Regions from separate parts of the Homo sapiens genome. Here regions 1, 2 and 3 are each linked to region 4. Evidence: promoter capture Hi-C in human tissues and cell types (Jung and others, 2019). All regions are on one chromosome and are shown on one strand. The core of a region is centred on a gene start or on the middle of the fragment in contact, and the rest is flanking DNA. Distances in the headings are between cores, read along the strand shown.

Region 1 (3,755 bases), core at 311-2,810, 160 kb after region 4:
TGCTGATCACCTACCCTATGCCAGTCAGGGATCCAGATGTTGAGTAGTCTGCAGTAATCAAGCCAGATAAAGTCTTCCTCTCTTGGAGTTCACATATTAGAGGGAGAAGACTCATAAATACACAATTAAAGCAAGAGAATTACAGCCAGTGACAAGTGCTATGATGAAAACCTGGATTTGGGGCTGGGTGCTGTGGTTCATGCCTGTAATCTCAGCACTTTGGGAGGCCAAGGCAGGCGGATTACCTGACGTCAGGAGTTCGAGACTAGCCCGGCCAACATGGTGAAACCTTGTCTGTACTAAAAATACAAAAGTTAGCTGGGCGTGGTGGTGTGTGCCTATAATCCCAGCTACTCAGGAGACTGAGGCAGGAGAATCACTTGAAACTGGGAGGTGGAGGTTGCAGTGAGCCAAGATTGTGCCACTGCACTCCAGACTTGGTGACAGAGTGAGCGAGACTCCATCTCCAAAAAAAAAAAAAAAAAAAAAGAAAGAAAAGGAAAAAAAACCTGGGTTTGAATCCAAGCTTTGCCAGTGTCATATGTTCTTGAACATTTCACTGCTTTACATCTCAGAGTCTTAGTTTTCTCATCTGTAACGTGGGGGCAAAGACAGCACCTGCCTGTCAGGATCGAAGAAAGGAGTAAATGAAATATGGCATATAAAATACTTAGACAATGCCCAGCACATATTAGGCACTCAATAAATACGTATTTTTAAAAGAGCGAGAGATCTGCATCCTACTGGTGCTTCCAAGGTCAACTCAAGGCTTACCTCCTCCTTGAAGCGTTCAGTTGCCTCCCCCACCTCCTTCATGTCCTCCACCACACACAGTGCCTTCGCTCTTCTAGAACCAAGCTGAGTACTGCTGATTTATTTTACCTGCTAATTATCTGTCTCGCCAAACCTGACTAAGCTCCTTTAAGTCTTTTGCAACCCCACTCCCATGCACCTAACACCCTACTGAGCCCTTGGTAGGCGCTCAATACAGGTTTATTGATTGACAACATGTACCTGAGTTGACTTCCTTTGTCTTGATGCCTAGTCACCTTCTGTAGATAAGGTAAAGGGGAGATGTGTGTGTTGTGGTGTTGGGATCAAATTAGGAACCCCCTCACTCCTACAGGGAGGTTGGCACTCATGTGAGTAAGGCTATTAGGACTATAGTCCCCAGATTTACAAAGGCTGAATGCAGTAGATAACCCCCTCCTTTCTTGCATGAAGGAGAAATAAAGGATAATCGCAGGGCTTTCTTCAGCTCCATTTGTGTGTGTGAGGAGCGTTACACTGGCAGTAATTACAGAAGAAAAGGAAATGGAATAAGTGCCAAAGGATGAATTAGTTGTACTTGACCTAATTAAAATCTTGTAGAAAGAATTCTTCTCTTACTTGCAAAGGTGATCTAACATAACCTTGAAGCCATTGTATTAACCACTGTACTTTTCATTTTAACGGGAACAAATGGCAGAAAGATCACTTGGGAAAGGCAACATTTCACTCGCCTTTCAGAAATTAAATGACCCTGATTTCTGAACCACTTCCTCTCAATGAAATTAAATTGCATTGAACCCGGTCAGTTAACAAGGGGAAGTTAATCAAGCCAGAGGAGGAGTTCACCCAACTGATTCTCTGGCAGGAGGACTTTGGGAAGCTTCTGGAAAAGGAAAAACAAACAAACAGAGGAAAGAGGATTGGACCTTTGGTCGAAGTGTGCTGAATTTGATTTTTTGCTTTGTTTGAACACACACACATACACACAGAGGGGGACAGAGAGAGAGAGAGATGGAGAGAAACATAGTTGCTCCAGCGGTCTGGATATAACAACCACACCATGATAATGATCAATTGTGTATTTCTGATTGTACTAAGCCCTTTGTACGGGTTATCTCATTCATTCTTACATCTATTCATACAAGCTGCTATTATTCCCCCCATTTTGCATATAAGAAAATTGAGGCTCAGAGATGTCAAGTACTGGCTGACATCACATATCTTAACCAAATGACAGAGCTGGAGCCAGAATCCAGGTTGGCCAGATTCTGAAACCACTGTGGTATATTTTCAACCAAATTAGATGGGTGCTTGCCCACAGTCTCATTCATCACAATTCTGTGGATCTTTTGTTCCAACTAGGCTATGTCACTGATAGGACTGTTTTTCTCAAAATGCCAGTGGCCCTTTAATCAATGTGGGAGGTGCCTTTGTGGCATATAGGGTTATGGTTTCATAATGGTGAAACTTTTGTAACTTGCACTTAGTGGCTGTTCATCATGACTATTGTTCAGTATAAATTGGTAGGTGCATGAGAAATGCCATAGGTAAGGGCTTAACAGATAATGTGACTCTAGTCCTCATGGACTGATAATAGATTTTCCATCCAAATACGGGGAATGGAGCTACCAGTTGAGGTAGCTAAAGAGAGAAAAAGTATAGTGTAGTCATTATGTGTGCACACCTCGGGTTCTGATTGCCTCAGCAATCCTGGGATGTACCACTCTGTAGTTTTGCAACTTTGAGTAAATTATGTGAGATCTCTGTGACTCTATTTCTTCATCTTCAGAATGGAGAGGATTACAGTACCTACCGTGTAAGTGTGTTGTGAAGATTAAATGACAGAATTATACAATTAGCATACAGTAAGTGCCTAGTGAATGTTCGTTCTTAAGATTCAAAATTTGGTCCCTGGTCATCGAAAAACCTGAGCTTCTGGAAGAAGACAGAAGTGGTCAGTTCCCTGGAAGCTGGTTACCAAGAGAGACCTGTTCAGAGATGAACTGGGTTTGAACAGATGGAGGAAAAGGAAACTAACAGCTAGGAAATGGAAGTGTCCATAGGATTTGCTGTGTTCTCAGCAAATGTCTCAGGTAGGTGTCCAGGGACAGAACCCTTGCTAGGTAAACCTAGGTAAGACAGAGGGAGTGAATGCAACTCAGGAGAATCCCTCCATATTTTCATCCTTCAGTCCATTTATTCTTCTGTCTTTCTATTCTTCTATCCTTCCACCCTTCCATTCATCCATCCACCCATCCTTTCCTTCTAGAGTCTGCCATCCTTCTAGACTTCCACTCATGCTTCTATCCTGTGTTTCTGTCCCTTTTGTAATTTCATCTGTTCACCCATCCATACCTTGTAATCACCTATTCTTTTATCCTTGGTATATCTTAGTGGTGAAAAAGGTAGAATGTGGACATGGAAAGTCTGGGTTGAAATCCTATGTCATTTACTACCTGTGTGGCTTTGGGCAAATGTTTTAACCTCTTCAAACTCCAGTTTCCCCATTTATAAATTGAGACTGTCTCCTGAAGGCAAAGGAGAATCACTGGAGAGTTCTGAGCAAGGGAGTAACACAAGTGTATTTGTGCTTTTTTCCCCCCCAACTTTCATTTTTTTAATACAAATAATCCCATAGCATTTATTCCCTTCTTGTAATAACATAAGGGTAATCAAAACAATATGAATAAATGTTTATATTGGACAAAGGACATCTCAAAACAAACTGTATCCTTCTCAACAGTTTCTCACTTCGTTGATCATTTCTAGTTGGAGACACTTTGTAGCAGAGGAATATTATCTCCTTTTAGTATGATCCGACCCAGTTGTTTTCTTGACTTTGTTTTAGAATGAATCTCTTCTGCGTCATCTAATACAAGATTCATATACTTATCAAAACCAATGATACAGCCTTCTATCTACATATTCACTTGCTCATAGAGCCACACCTGAATCCATGATCTATTTTGTAAGTATCTGAAGAT
Region 2 (4,043 bases), core at 1,184-3,683, 160 kb before region 4:
CCCAGGCTCAGGGTGGTCAGCAGAAATGAAGGACTATTGGCATTTTCAAATCATCAGCTTAGTTTGAGCACTTAGCATTTCCCTGTCCGGCTTGGCATCGACGGCAGAAGCTTAATTAGTGGGGACCGAAGGAAGGAAGGCACTTAGGAAGTGAGATGAAGTTTGGGTTCATGTCCACACGAGCTGCTCAGAACTCAGTAATCGGGGCTTTGGATCAGACAGACTTGAGGTCAAATCCCTGTTCTGCCCCTTTTTTGGGGGAAATGACAAATGACCTCATCCCTCTGAGTGTCAGTTTCCTTTCCTGTAAAATGCGGATCATTATGGTGCCAGTTTCATTAGGTCATCATGATGGTGAAATAAAATAACAGGCAAACCCCTCAGCACCATCCCTGGCACCACGCCAAGTGCTTAATAAATGCTAGCTCTTATTAGTATTTACCTACACATTTATTTATTTATGAGAGGAACACAGCCCAAAAATATACACAACACTCACTGGGAAGAGGAATCATAAAAATAGGCTTAGAGGATCGATGGGGATGTAAAAGACGGTGGTTCCTGGAGTCTGAGTGTGAGCTTTATTCGAGTTCAGGGCGGTAAGCGTTTCTGCATCAGAGCCTGAGCTGATTGACTCCGAGAGCCTGAGCAAAGTAGAGAGCGTGTTTGAGGCTCTCGCCTGGCACCCGGGGGGTCTGTTTGCAATTTAGGGTGGCACTTTCCATTCTTAGGGTGGCACTTTCCATTCTGGGACCCTCCTTTCTAGTTTGCAGTTGAGGTTGGTAATCTGAAGACTGAATGTTTCCGTGGTTGCCTGGCACGGTGGGGAGGCCAAGAGAGGCTCTGGAAGAAATTCTGATGAGCCATCTGCTGTCCTCACCAAGAGCCACAATAGTAACACCTATCATTTTAAAAGATGTTTTATTTTGCATTATTATTATTTTACTTCTTATTTTTTTGTGATAGGGTCTTGCTATGTTGCCCAGGATGAACTCAAACTCCTGGGCTCCACCAAGCCTCCAGCTTCAGTCTTCTGAGCAGCTGGGACTACTGGCATGCCCCGTGACACTCAGCTATTGTTTTTTTGTTTTCTGTTTTGTTTTTTTTTTGTTTTGAGATGGAATCTTGCTCTTGCCCAGGCTGGAGTGCAGTGGCGAGATCTTGGTTCACTGCAACCTCTGCCTCCTGGGTTCAAGTGATTCTTGTGCCTCAGCCTCCTGAGTAGCTGGAATTACAGGCATGCATCACCATGCCTGGCTAATTTTTTTTTGTATTTTTAGTAGAGGTGGGGTTTCACCATGCAGGCTGGTCTCGAACTCCTGACCTCAAATGATCCGCCTGCCTCAGCCTCCCAAAGTGCTGGGATTACAGGCTTGAGCCACTGTGCCTGTCCCATACCCAACTTTTACGTTAAGCACTAACTATGACTAACTTTTAAGCACTAAGCCAGTGAATTTGCTCGAGCCTGGAGTTACAACCTTGACTCTTGACTAGGCCACAATCACGTAAGTCTTCATGGTCAATGTGTAGCGAATCAATAATACTGTGTGCTCAATATGTGTTAGGCGCTGTGCTAACCTCCTTATATGCATTATCTCATTTAATTCACATAAGAAATCTATTATTCAAATTCTTATTCAAATAAGAAATCATACAGGTATAATTCTTGTTTTACAGGTAAGGAAGTGGAGGCTCAGGTAAGTTAAAAGACTTACCTGAGGGCTCTCAGTTGTAAAAGGTGATGTTAGAATATGAACATGGGTCTGTTTGATGCCAAGGCTTCGCCCAGAGTGGAAGGCATGCAGCTGGGTTTGCTGATGTGCCTGCGAGCCTGGGTATTTCTCCTTCCCCTGGTTCCTCATCTTCTCCCATTGAATGTGCTCCAACCATGCTGGTCTCCTTTCAGTTCTGAGAACAGACCAACCTCCTTCTTTTTATTTCTTTAATTTATTTTTATTTTTGAATAAAATAAAAATTATTTTTAATTTTATTAAAATATAATTTTTTGAATATTTTAAATATTCAAATTCGAGATGGAATCTCGCTCGTTAAATATATATATATTTATTTATTATTTTATTTTATTTTGAGACGCAGTTTTGCTCTTCTTGCTCAGGATGGAGTGCAGTGGTGCAATCTCGGCTCACTGCAACCTCTGCCTCCCAGGTTCTAGTGATTCTCCTGCCTCAGCCTCCTGAGTAGCTGGGATTACAGGAGTGTGGCACCACACCCAGCTAAGTTTTTGTATTTTTAGTAGAGAGGGGGTTTCATCATGTTGGCCAGGCTGGTCTTGAACTCCTGACTTCAGGTGATCCACCTGCCTCGGCCTCACAAAGTGCAGAGATTACAGGCGTGAGCCACCGCGCCCGGCCCACTATATTTAAAATATTCAAAAATATTTTTAAATTTTATTTTTATTTTTGAATATTTTAAAATTTATTTTATTTTTTAATATTTTTATTTTTATTTTTGAAAAATTAGTCAGCCATGGTGGTATGTGCCTGTAGTCCCAGCTACTCAGGAGGCTGAGATGGGAGGATTACCTGAGCCCAGGAGGTCGAGGCTGCAGTGAGCCATGATTGCACCACTGCCCTCCAGCCTGGGCAACAGAGTATTTTTTAAATTTATTTTTATTTTTATTCACATACCACCGCGGCTGGCTATTATTTATTTATTTATTTTGGTATTTTTTGTAGAGACGGGATCTCTCTATGTTGCCCAGGCTGGTCTCAAACTCCTGGGCGTAAGCGATCCTTCTGCCTTGGCCTCCAAAAGTGCTGGGATTACAGGTGTGAACCGCTGTGCCCCGGCCCAACCTCCTTCTCTTGGATCCTTTGTATTTGCTATTCCCTCTGCCTGGAACCTGCTCCCCACAACACTTTCACTTAATTATCTCCCGTTTATTCTCCCAGTCCATAACAGGGGCTACGTATTACCTCTCAATCATAATTTCCCCTTTTTGGTAATAAAACCCTGGGCAACTCTTTAGAGCTCACATGCCCCAGCCTCTCTTCCAGCGTGCGATATTCACGTAACTAGTTTTGGGCCAATGAGATGGATGTGGAATATTTTGTGAAACTTATGGTCAGCTCCTTAAGTGGACTGGGGAGGCGTCCCTTATGTCTCTAATGTCCTTGTCCCATGTTGTTGTCTGTGAGGCAGATGTAGTGGCTGGAGCTCTGGCAACCATCTTGGACCATGAGACAACCTTGAGGATGAAAACCACATGCTAAGGGGTATGGAGCAGAAAGACAGAAGGAGGCTGGGGTCCTGATAACTGCTGGAACTCCCAAATCAGTCCTGGGCTGCCTACTTTCTGATTTCCTGTGGAACAAGCGAAAAAAGAAGCTCTGTTTCACTAAAGCTACTAAGTCCAGCCTCTGTTACTATCAACTAAATAAAATTCCTGACAAATACCAGGTCTTGGTTTAAATATAACTTTCTGGCTGGGTGTGGTGGCTCACACCTGTAATCCCAGTACTTTGGCAGACCAAGGAGGGTGGATCACTTGAGTCCAGGAGTTCAAGACCAGCCTGATAGACATGGCGAAACCCTGTCTCTACAAAAGACGCAAAAATTAGCCGGGCATGGTGGTGTGTGCCTGTGGTCCCAGCGACTTGAGAGGCTGAGGCAGGATTGCTTGAGCCTGGGAGGTCAATGCTGCAGTTAGCTGTGATCACACCACTGCCCTGGATCCTAGGCAATAGAATGAGACTCTGTATCAAATAAATAAATAAATAAATAAATAAATAAATAAATAAATAAATAAATGTATATAAATATCACTTTCTCTGAATGGCTTATGTGAAACTCAAAATAGATCTGTCTATTTGTTCTCTCTTTTAGCAACATGGTTCTTTTTTTTTAATTGCCCTGATTCCAATGAAAATAAATATATACTGCTTTGTTTAATTTATCTTCCCCGCTGAACTACTGGAAATATGGGCAGGGAAACTGTATATAGTTACCTAGGTTGTGCACTGCACAAATCCAGAGAATACCAGTTAAATAATAGCATATGTGAATGTCACGTTCTGAAATTG
Region 3 (3,730 bases), core at 14-2,513, 230 kb after region 4:
GTATATAGGTATATGTTTATGCATTGAAATGAAATATGTACAACTAGGTCCTTCCCCGTCTCCCCTATAAAGCCTATAAAGTCTTCTATGAAACAAAGTTAATTCCATTCTCAGACAGAGGCTCCCAGAATCCAGTGTTTTGGTTGGTCTCCGCTACAAATGCTTTTTCTGATATTTGTGTGTTTGCAAGTCCCTCTCTGAGACTTTCTAAAATTTGATTGTTAATTGGCTGTTATATGCATGAAGTTCTGGACTTGGTGTCCCAAGCTCTTTATAGATTTACTTTTTTTCTCCCCCTCCTGCCATTAAATAATCACCCTTGAGCTTCTCTCAACTTACTCTCCATCAATAACCATTGTATTCGTTCCATTACAGCCCTCCTAAATACAAAACAATGACGACAACAACAAACCATTCAAACTTCCAACCAACTTCCCCTGAAGGCACAGAAGGTGAGACCTAAGGGAAAAGAAATCCACCCTCTTTAACATCAGCTAACAGCATAGGAGTAAATGCCTGGTACAGAGCCCAGAATTCCTATTTCACATTCTGATTTGGCACTTTCACCATAATGGGAAAATCTCCTCTACTTTTCCTGTGAAGCTGTTTCTTCTCCTTCTGGAAGATAACAGCAGGATGATAGAGGAGGTCAAAGGATAAAGAGAAAGGATGCAGCCTATTTCTTCATTTATTTGACCAATAATGTTTGAAAATGATGAAGTCCTTGTCCTCAAGAAACTAACAGCCTGGGGTGAAGGGTGCAGGTGGGACAGATGTAAAAACAATTTCAGATGCAGACGCTACATGTGATTATCAAAGTCTGTAGAGTGGCTCATGCCTGTAATCCCAGCACTTTAGGAGGCTAAGGCAGGCAGATCACCTGAGGTCAGGAGTTCGAGACCAGCCTGGCCAACATGGTAAAACCCCATCTTTACTAAAAATACAAAAAAATAGCCAGGCGTGGTGGCAGTCACCTGTAATCCCAGCTACTCGGGAGGCTGAGGCAGGAGAATCACTTGAACCGGAGAGGCAGAGGTTGTGGTGAGCTGAGATCGCGCCACTGCACTCCAGCCTGGGCAACAAGAGTGAGACTTCATCTCAAAAAAAAAAAAAAAAAAAAAAAAGTCTGTAAAGAAGAGGTCATAAAGTAGGGTAGTAGTTTTTTAAAATATATATCTTCCTTTTCTCTACTTATCATGCTCATGCTTTTCTCTACTTTCTTGAAAAAAATGGAATGTATTTTTTAAACTGTGTTGACTTTCTGGTCTGCTGATTATATTATTTGTCGTTTGTGGGTCTATTTTCTATTGATTGATTTGCCTACTCTACACTGGACAGGGGGATCCAGGAAGCCTTCATAGGAGAAATAACCCCAATAAGGGGAAGTGTCCTCCAGGCAGCAAAACAGCACACGAGAGTAGGGTAGAGTGCAATAGAACAGCTCAGGGAGCCTGAGAAATTCCGTGGCACTGGAAGCTGGGTTATGAAGGGGATATGTTTAAGGGCTAAGTCTGGAGAGGCAGGCAATGGCTCAGATGGTGAAGAATGTGATCTGTCAGGTAAGCAGGCAGAACTCATCCTATAGAAGGTAAAGAGCCTCTGGAGCGATCTAAAGGAGAAAGTGTCTTTTGTTTTAAATGCTCACTAGCTGCAGAGTAGAGAATGGATTGAGAGAGGTGAGCCTGAAGAAAGGCCACTTAAGAAGCTATTATGGTGGTTAAGGTGAGAGATGAAAGTAGCCCGGAAAAGATCAGATTCAATGGGGTTGAAGAAAAGTGGATGAATTTGATAGACTTTTAGAAGGGAGAATCTAATATGATAGAAAATATGAGGGTGATTTCTGGCCCTTCACAGGAGAAAGAGGCTGAAAGAGAGGAACGGAGTGAGGAGAGATTATGAAATGAGTTAGGATGGGTGGGGTGTATCCTCTGGGGTTCCCATGCCAAATTTCCTTCAGGTGACCAGTTTTACCTTTCTCCCTGCCACCTTCATCCCTGCCTGGTCATTAAGGATGGACATGCCACTTGTCTTTGCTGGACCTTAATTTCCATCCATGAAATGAAGGGACTGGGATTGAGCCCTTCCCTCTTCTCCCAGGCTGGGCTGAGCTCTCCCTTCTCTGAGTCTTGCAGTATCTGTCTCAGTCTTACACTACTAAGCTTTTGCTGCCCAGTATCTGCATTCTGTTTCCCCAAGAAGAGTTGAAGTTCTTGGAGGGGAGGGCACCTTAAGCCACTCGGTATCCTCTACCAGCTGCTTGCAAAGGCTTCTTCAAACCTGAGAGGCCAGTCTTCCTGGGTATGGAAGACTAGTCTTCAGGTTGCTTCTGGCTATCCCCAACATCCTTACTCTCCAGAACTTTCAGATGCTGGGTCCAGGGCCCATTTCACTGAGCCCTCTGCAGCTGGAATTTATCTTGCCCCAGAGCCCAGCTGAACAGCACTGGGGGTGGGAGATGTAAGCTGATGGGAGAGAAACATGGCAGGAATCCTGGTTCTAGGAGAGTTGGATCCAGATCCTGTGTCTCGTAGGGATGTATGTGTGTGTTTATGTGTATATGTATGCGTGCATGTGCAGACATATGTGTGTGCACGTATGACACATTGGAGTGTCTCTGTGGGTTTTTTTTCTGTATTAAGTTATATGTGAAGTTCCATTGGTGTGTCTGCACTAAATCATGATGCATAAGTCAGCGCACACATCTCAACATCTATACGCCCATGACTATTAATGCCTGTGTATGTGTGAGGGCCTTTGCTGGAAAATGCATGTGTCTGTCCACATACCTGTTTGCAAGTGGGTGCATATATGTTATACACATATACGTTTGTGTGTATATGGGTGCCGCACTGTGTGTGTGTGTGTTTATGTGTGTGTGTGTGTTAAGTGTTATATATAAATGGAGGCAGGATACAGAGTCTAGTTTAGAGCATTTGCTTCAACGTCTGGCTACCTGGGTTCAAGCCCTGAAATCAGCATTTAAAAGCTATAGGCCTTTGAGTAATTATCTTTTTAAAGCACCGGTTTACTCGTCACTAAATTGAAGGTAATAATAGTGGCTACCTTCAATGTCTAATGTGAGGGTGGAATGATATAATGCCCAAAATGCACTTAAAATAATGCCTTATACGTAGGGGGTGTTAAAAAATATTGGTTGTTACAAAGTAATTCATGACAATAAATATGTAAGTGGCTGACTTGAGGGTCTCTGAGGCTTTCTGCATGTGCATCTGTGCCTTTGGGCACGTGAGGTTGATATGTGTGTCTGTTAGAATGTGTGTGTTGGTGTGGATAGACGCCTCTGGGTATACAGGCCTGTGTGGGGGGCTAAGTGGGCATGTGTGTTTGTGGTTTGCCTGTGAGTGCCTCTATGTGAGTTTGTGTTCTGCCAGGATTGGGAACATTCCTAGGGAAGGGATTGTGTCTAATTAATTATTGTACCCAGGCCCTTGGACCCGGGACATAAAAACTGCTAAGCAAATTTGTGTTGACTGAATGAATGAATGAAGTGGACTGGACATTCAGAGATTGTTATTCAGACAACATGCCCATTTGTAGAAAACAAAAAGGTGTAAATAGCTAGCTAGCTAGATGATAATTGAGTAGGGAGGTATGTAGACGATAGGTAGATAGGAGGTAGATGATGATAGATAGATAGATACATACATACATAGATAGATACATAGATAGATACATGGATAGATAGATGACAGGTAGCTAGACAGATAGA
Region 4 (3,888 bases), core at 1,160-3,659:
TTTGTGTCCTTTTGACACCCAGTTAATACTTAGCATACCATAGTGGCCAAAACTATTAGTTGAGGGTATGAAGACATCAACAACAGCTAAATCCTAATCCTAGCTTCATCCTTTTAAGTTCCCAAACTCTGGGCTAAGCCTGTGGCTAGCATAGTGCCTGGCATACAGTAGATGTCAATGCTGTGTGTCAGGAAGGCCCTAGCTGGCATAGGAGTTGGGATGTGAAGGTGCGAGGTACCTTGGCTTCCACCTTGAGGTCTTTAAAGGCCTAAGTTTTTCCTCATTTTCTCCATCCTCTTGTCCCTGCTTTGAACTCTTGAAGGGTCAACCTCTGCTTGTCTTTGTCTCTGTCCCTTAAATGGTTTCATTAGAAAAGCCTGGGATAGTGAGTGAGTGAGTGGCTATCTCACTCAGTAGAGGAGGTGCAAGGGTGGGTGGATTGTTGGGGGGACATTCTGATGGGAATGCTGAGGGGGAAAGAGGTTCTTACACTTTTCCAGTTCAGCAAGCATCATCAAATAACCAACCTTCTCAAAAACTCATTTCCCAAAACAGTGCTCTGGGGAGAGAAGCTCCGAAGGGCTGAAGGGGGGAGGTGGAACCTGGACTAAAATCAATCCCAGCTCAAGGTAATTACAGGACATGTGCTACCACCCCGGCAGGGCAAGTCAGAGGCTGAGCTGCTCTCCTAGGGCAGCCGTGGCGATTAGTTAGGAATAAAAGCCTCATCACTGGCTTGGGGAGAGAGGCTCACACATTAGTAAACTTGCGCTTTCTCATGCCTGCCAAATTTGGGAGGGGGGATTTATTGAAACAATCTCATCAGGGGCCCTGACTGCCAAGTTGAATGTTTGGGAAAGGAAATCTCAGCCAGGCTCTCAGAAATCCAGCTCCCAAGTTCCCAGGATCGCAAGATGCTAAGGTTCGCAGACTAAGAGATGACTAGGGAGATGATGCTAAGATTTCAGGCTGTACACTGGATTTTTTTTCTCTCTTTCTCTCTGCTTCTTTCAGTCCCTCTCTCCTCTCTGCATGCAAGTAATCTTTAGGGATCTATTTGTCACCAAGACTGCCTGCAAGGAGGGTCCACCCAAAGCTGGAGCCCCAGGAAAAAAGCTTTCTCTCTCTCTCGCTCTCTCTCGCACACGGCCCAGGCAAGCACTCCCTCCTTCTCGGCAGCTCAGCTCTCTTCAGGAATTCAGGACAAGTCTCAGCCACACTTTGGAAAGGACATTAAGATGTGGGACCAGCCAGACATCCACAGCAGCCGTGAGCTGCCCAGGGTGGGTAGACCTGGAGGCCAAGCCAGGGGGCCAGGCATGTCCTCAAGGAGACTGTGACCCCCTGAGGTGGCAGCCACCGCAGGCTGCCCTGTGTGTCTCTGCACCCTTGCCCTGGCCAGGGCATGGTCCCAGAGCCAACCCCTGATTCTCCTTAGCCAGCTGGGAGACCCTTTTCTTGCTAGGCATTCTTTCTCCATTCCAGTGCCCCCCGAGCAAGAGAGTGCTCAATGTCAGGGTCTCCAGCTTCATCTCGTGTCAGGCGGGGACACGCAGAGGGGCAGAGGTGCCCCAAGTGGGGTGGACGTGCAGGGGCCACGGGAGAAGGGAAGCCTCCACGAAGCCTTCTGTCCAGAACATGCAGTCAAGCCAAACACACACAAAGCCCTCTACGCCCCCACCCCATGAAAGCCGCCCCCTCCAGATGCGCGCACAAATGCACCTTCGAATCCATGCTCACATGCCCAGCCCATCGCCCGCCGTCACAGTCATCACACACACACACACACACACACACACGCTCGCGCGCGCACACACACACACACGGTCCCCAGCTAGGGCACAGCAACTTCCTTTCCCCCCGTGTGGAAATATCCATAGTTGCCCTTAAAGCTTAAACTTTTTCCGAGGGGGCGCCAGGGAACGCACGGGGGAGGACGGGGGATTCTGGGTAGGGTTGCCCGGCACTTGGGGTTCCTGGCTTCCCTCCCTCTCCCCCACGCCCCTCACCTGGTAAACCGAGGCACAGCAAGAGGCTGTAGTAGACCACGGGCACGAAACCCAAGCCGCAGGCCGAGCCGGGGGACCACCAAGACAGCGAGCTGTTGGCTGCGAGGTGGGCGTGCGTGTGCTCCATGAGCGCGCCCCTCGCTCCCCTTGCCGCTTCGCGCCCGGCCTGCCAGCCCGACTCTGGTCGCCGGCTCGGTGGTGGCGGCGGCGGAGGCAGCGGCAGCTGGAGCAGCAGCGCCTCTCTCCCCGCAGGACTGGCTCCTACCCTTGGCCGTGATCCCCTCTGCTCGCTCCGCACCTGCCCGCCTGGAGTCTTGGCTCAGCCCTCCCGCAGGGCGCGGGGCGCAGGGTGCGGGGCGCGCTGCGCGGGGCCTCGGGAGGGGCTCCCGGAGCCCGTCTGTGCGCCTCCCACCTCGGACCCGCTCCACTCCCGCCTCAAAGCCGGGGGGCTGGGACGCCGCTCCCCGCAGCCAATCAGCGGCTGCCTGGAAGCGGAGTGTGTGTGGGGTGGGAGGGATGCGGAAGAGGAGGGGGTCCCAGCCGCCTCGCTTGGCTCCACTTTCAGGGGAGAAGATGCAGTTAGACCTGGGAGCCCCGAAGGAAGACCGGAGTGGAAAACAGGCTATCCCCAATCTCCAACCCCGAGGGAGGGGCGTGGTGTGGGTAGGATCTGCCTCTCCCGCAGCGGCTCCTCACTCCTCCAGCGTGTCCTCAGTTTGCCTTTCTCCACTCTCCTCGCAGCCACCTCTCTTGCCCCTCTCCAATGCTTCCAGTCCATCTCCGGATAGAGGATTCTATACCTAGGGCAAAGAACGGGGGAAGGGGTGGGGCTGTTGGAGCAGCGAGGATGCTAAAGCGTTGTCGGTTTTCCTCGACAAGGGAAGCTGAGCTTGCTGGCTCTGGAAAGAGGGGTGCGTGCCTCCCTGTGCGTGTGTGTGGCGACTCTGGGGGTGGCCGCCGGTGAACTGTCCCCTAACTGGAGTGCGTTTGAAGAGGATACAGACTGGCTAAGAGAAGCCCCTCCTGCATGCCGCCCTTCAGTCAGGAATAAGGATGTTGCAGACACTCAAACACGCACTCGCCCACGCTCACACAAAGACACACAATACCCAGGCATGCGGTGTACTCACACGCTCACTCAGGCACGCGGATGCTCTCCCATCCCACACCCAGACCCTTGAAAACACGCAGGCATCCTCATCACCATGCACAAGACCACACTCACAGGGCGCTCCAAACATACGAAAACGCACGCGGGAGTCATGGGGGCTTGTCGAGAGTGCTTGAAGGTTGTGTGAAGGGTAGCATTTGTAAGGCAGGTGGGATCCAAGCAATGTGTGGGTGGGTGGTCCTTTCTCCTCAGGGCAGGCAGGTGGAGGGTTCCGGGTGTGGCCACCACAGACTTGAGGAGAAAGAGAGGAGAGAAAGAGAGAGAGAGAGAGAGAGAGGAGAGAGAGGAGAGAGAGAGAGAGAGAGAGAGGGACATAGTGTCTGTCTGGGGCTCAAGACAGTGAGTGTGAGAGAGTTAAAGATTCTGCAGGAACACCCAGGCCAGGCATCCCCAGGAGCAGACTGTAGCAGCTGCCTATGCAAAGAGCTGTGATGGGTCTGAGAAGCCTAAGACCCCCCGCCCTCAAACCCCCCACTCCCGCTGCTTCCCAACGCCCCTCACCCCTATATCACATCCATTCCTGGAGAGAAGGAACTGGCTAAGCTTTCCCCAGCCTCTTCCAGGTCTCCCAACGTGGAGCAGACCCCTGTCCCTCAAGACCAGCAAAGAGCATGTATCCAGTTCTTGTCTTTGTTAGAGGTTACCCCAGGCAGGGATGGGGGACACTCTAGGGCAGAGTGGAAATCTCCAAAGCATACAGAGTCAGGC

What was found. Contacts are between HindIII fragments. The study calls those that stand out against the background at their distance.
Region 1: a contact is called between a fragment that was not itself captured here and the fragment with the promoter of GPR139 in region 4, in 2 of the 25 tissues and cell types used here (aorta and dorsolateral prefrontal cortex).
Region 2: a fragment that was not itself captured here is called in contact with the fragment with the promoter of GPR139 in region 4 in 1 of the 25 tissues and cell types used here (H1 embryonic stem cells).
Region 3: a fragment that was not itself captured here is called in contact with the fragment with the promoter of GPR139 in region 4 in 1 of the 25 tissues and cell types used here (spleen).

Annotation. Positions count from the first base shown.
Region 1 is chr16:20,235,433-20,239,187 of GRCh38, forward strand. It overlaps the pseudogene SNRPEP3. Among named protein-coding and RNA genes, the nearest start is that of GP2, 90 kb to the right of the region's middle. The HindIII fragment of the contact is 3,450 bases long and covers 1-3,285 here.
Region 2 is chr16:19,913,111-19,917,153 of GRCh38, forward strand. No RefSeq gene overlaps it. Among named protein-coding and RNA genes, the nearest start is that of GPRC5B, 30 kb to the left of the region's middle. The HindIII fragment of the contact is 7,764 bases long and covers 1-4,043 here.
Region 3 is chr16:20,305,158-20,308,887 of GRCh38, forward strand. No RefSeq gene overlaps it. Among named protein-coding and RNA genes, the nearest start is that of GP2, 20 kb to the right of the region's middle. The HindIII fragment of the contact is 5,150 bases long and covers 1-3,730 here.
Region 4 is chr16:20,071,481-20,075,368 of GRCh38, forward strand. It overlaps GPR139 (G protein-coupled receptor 139), which reads right to left and starts at 2,410. Exons shown (of 2, transcript NM_001002911.4): 1 at 2,010-2,410. The coding sequence starts at 2,136. The HindIII fragment of the contact is 2,569 bases long and covers 1,505-3,888 here.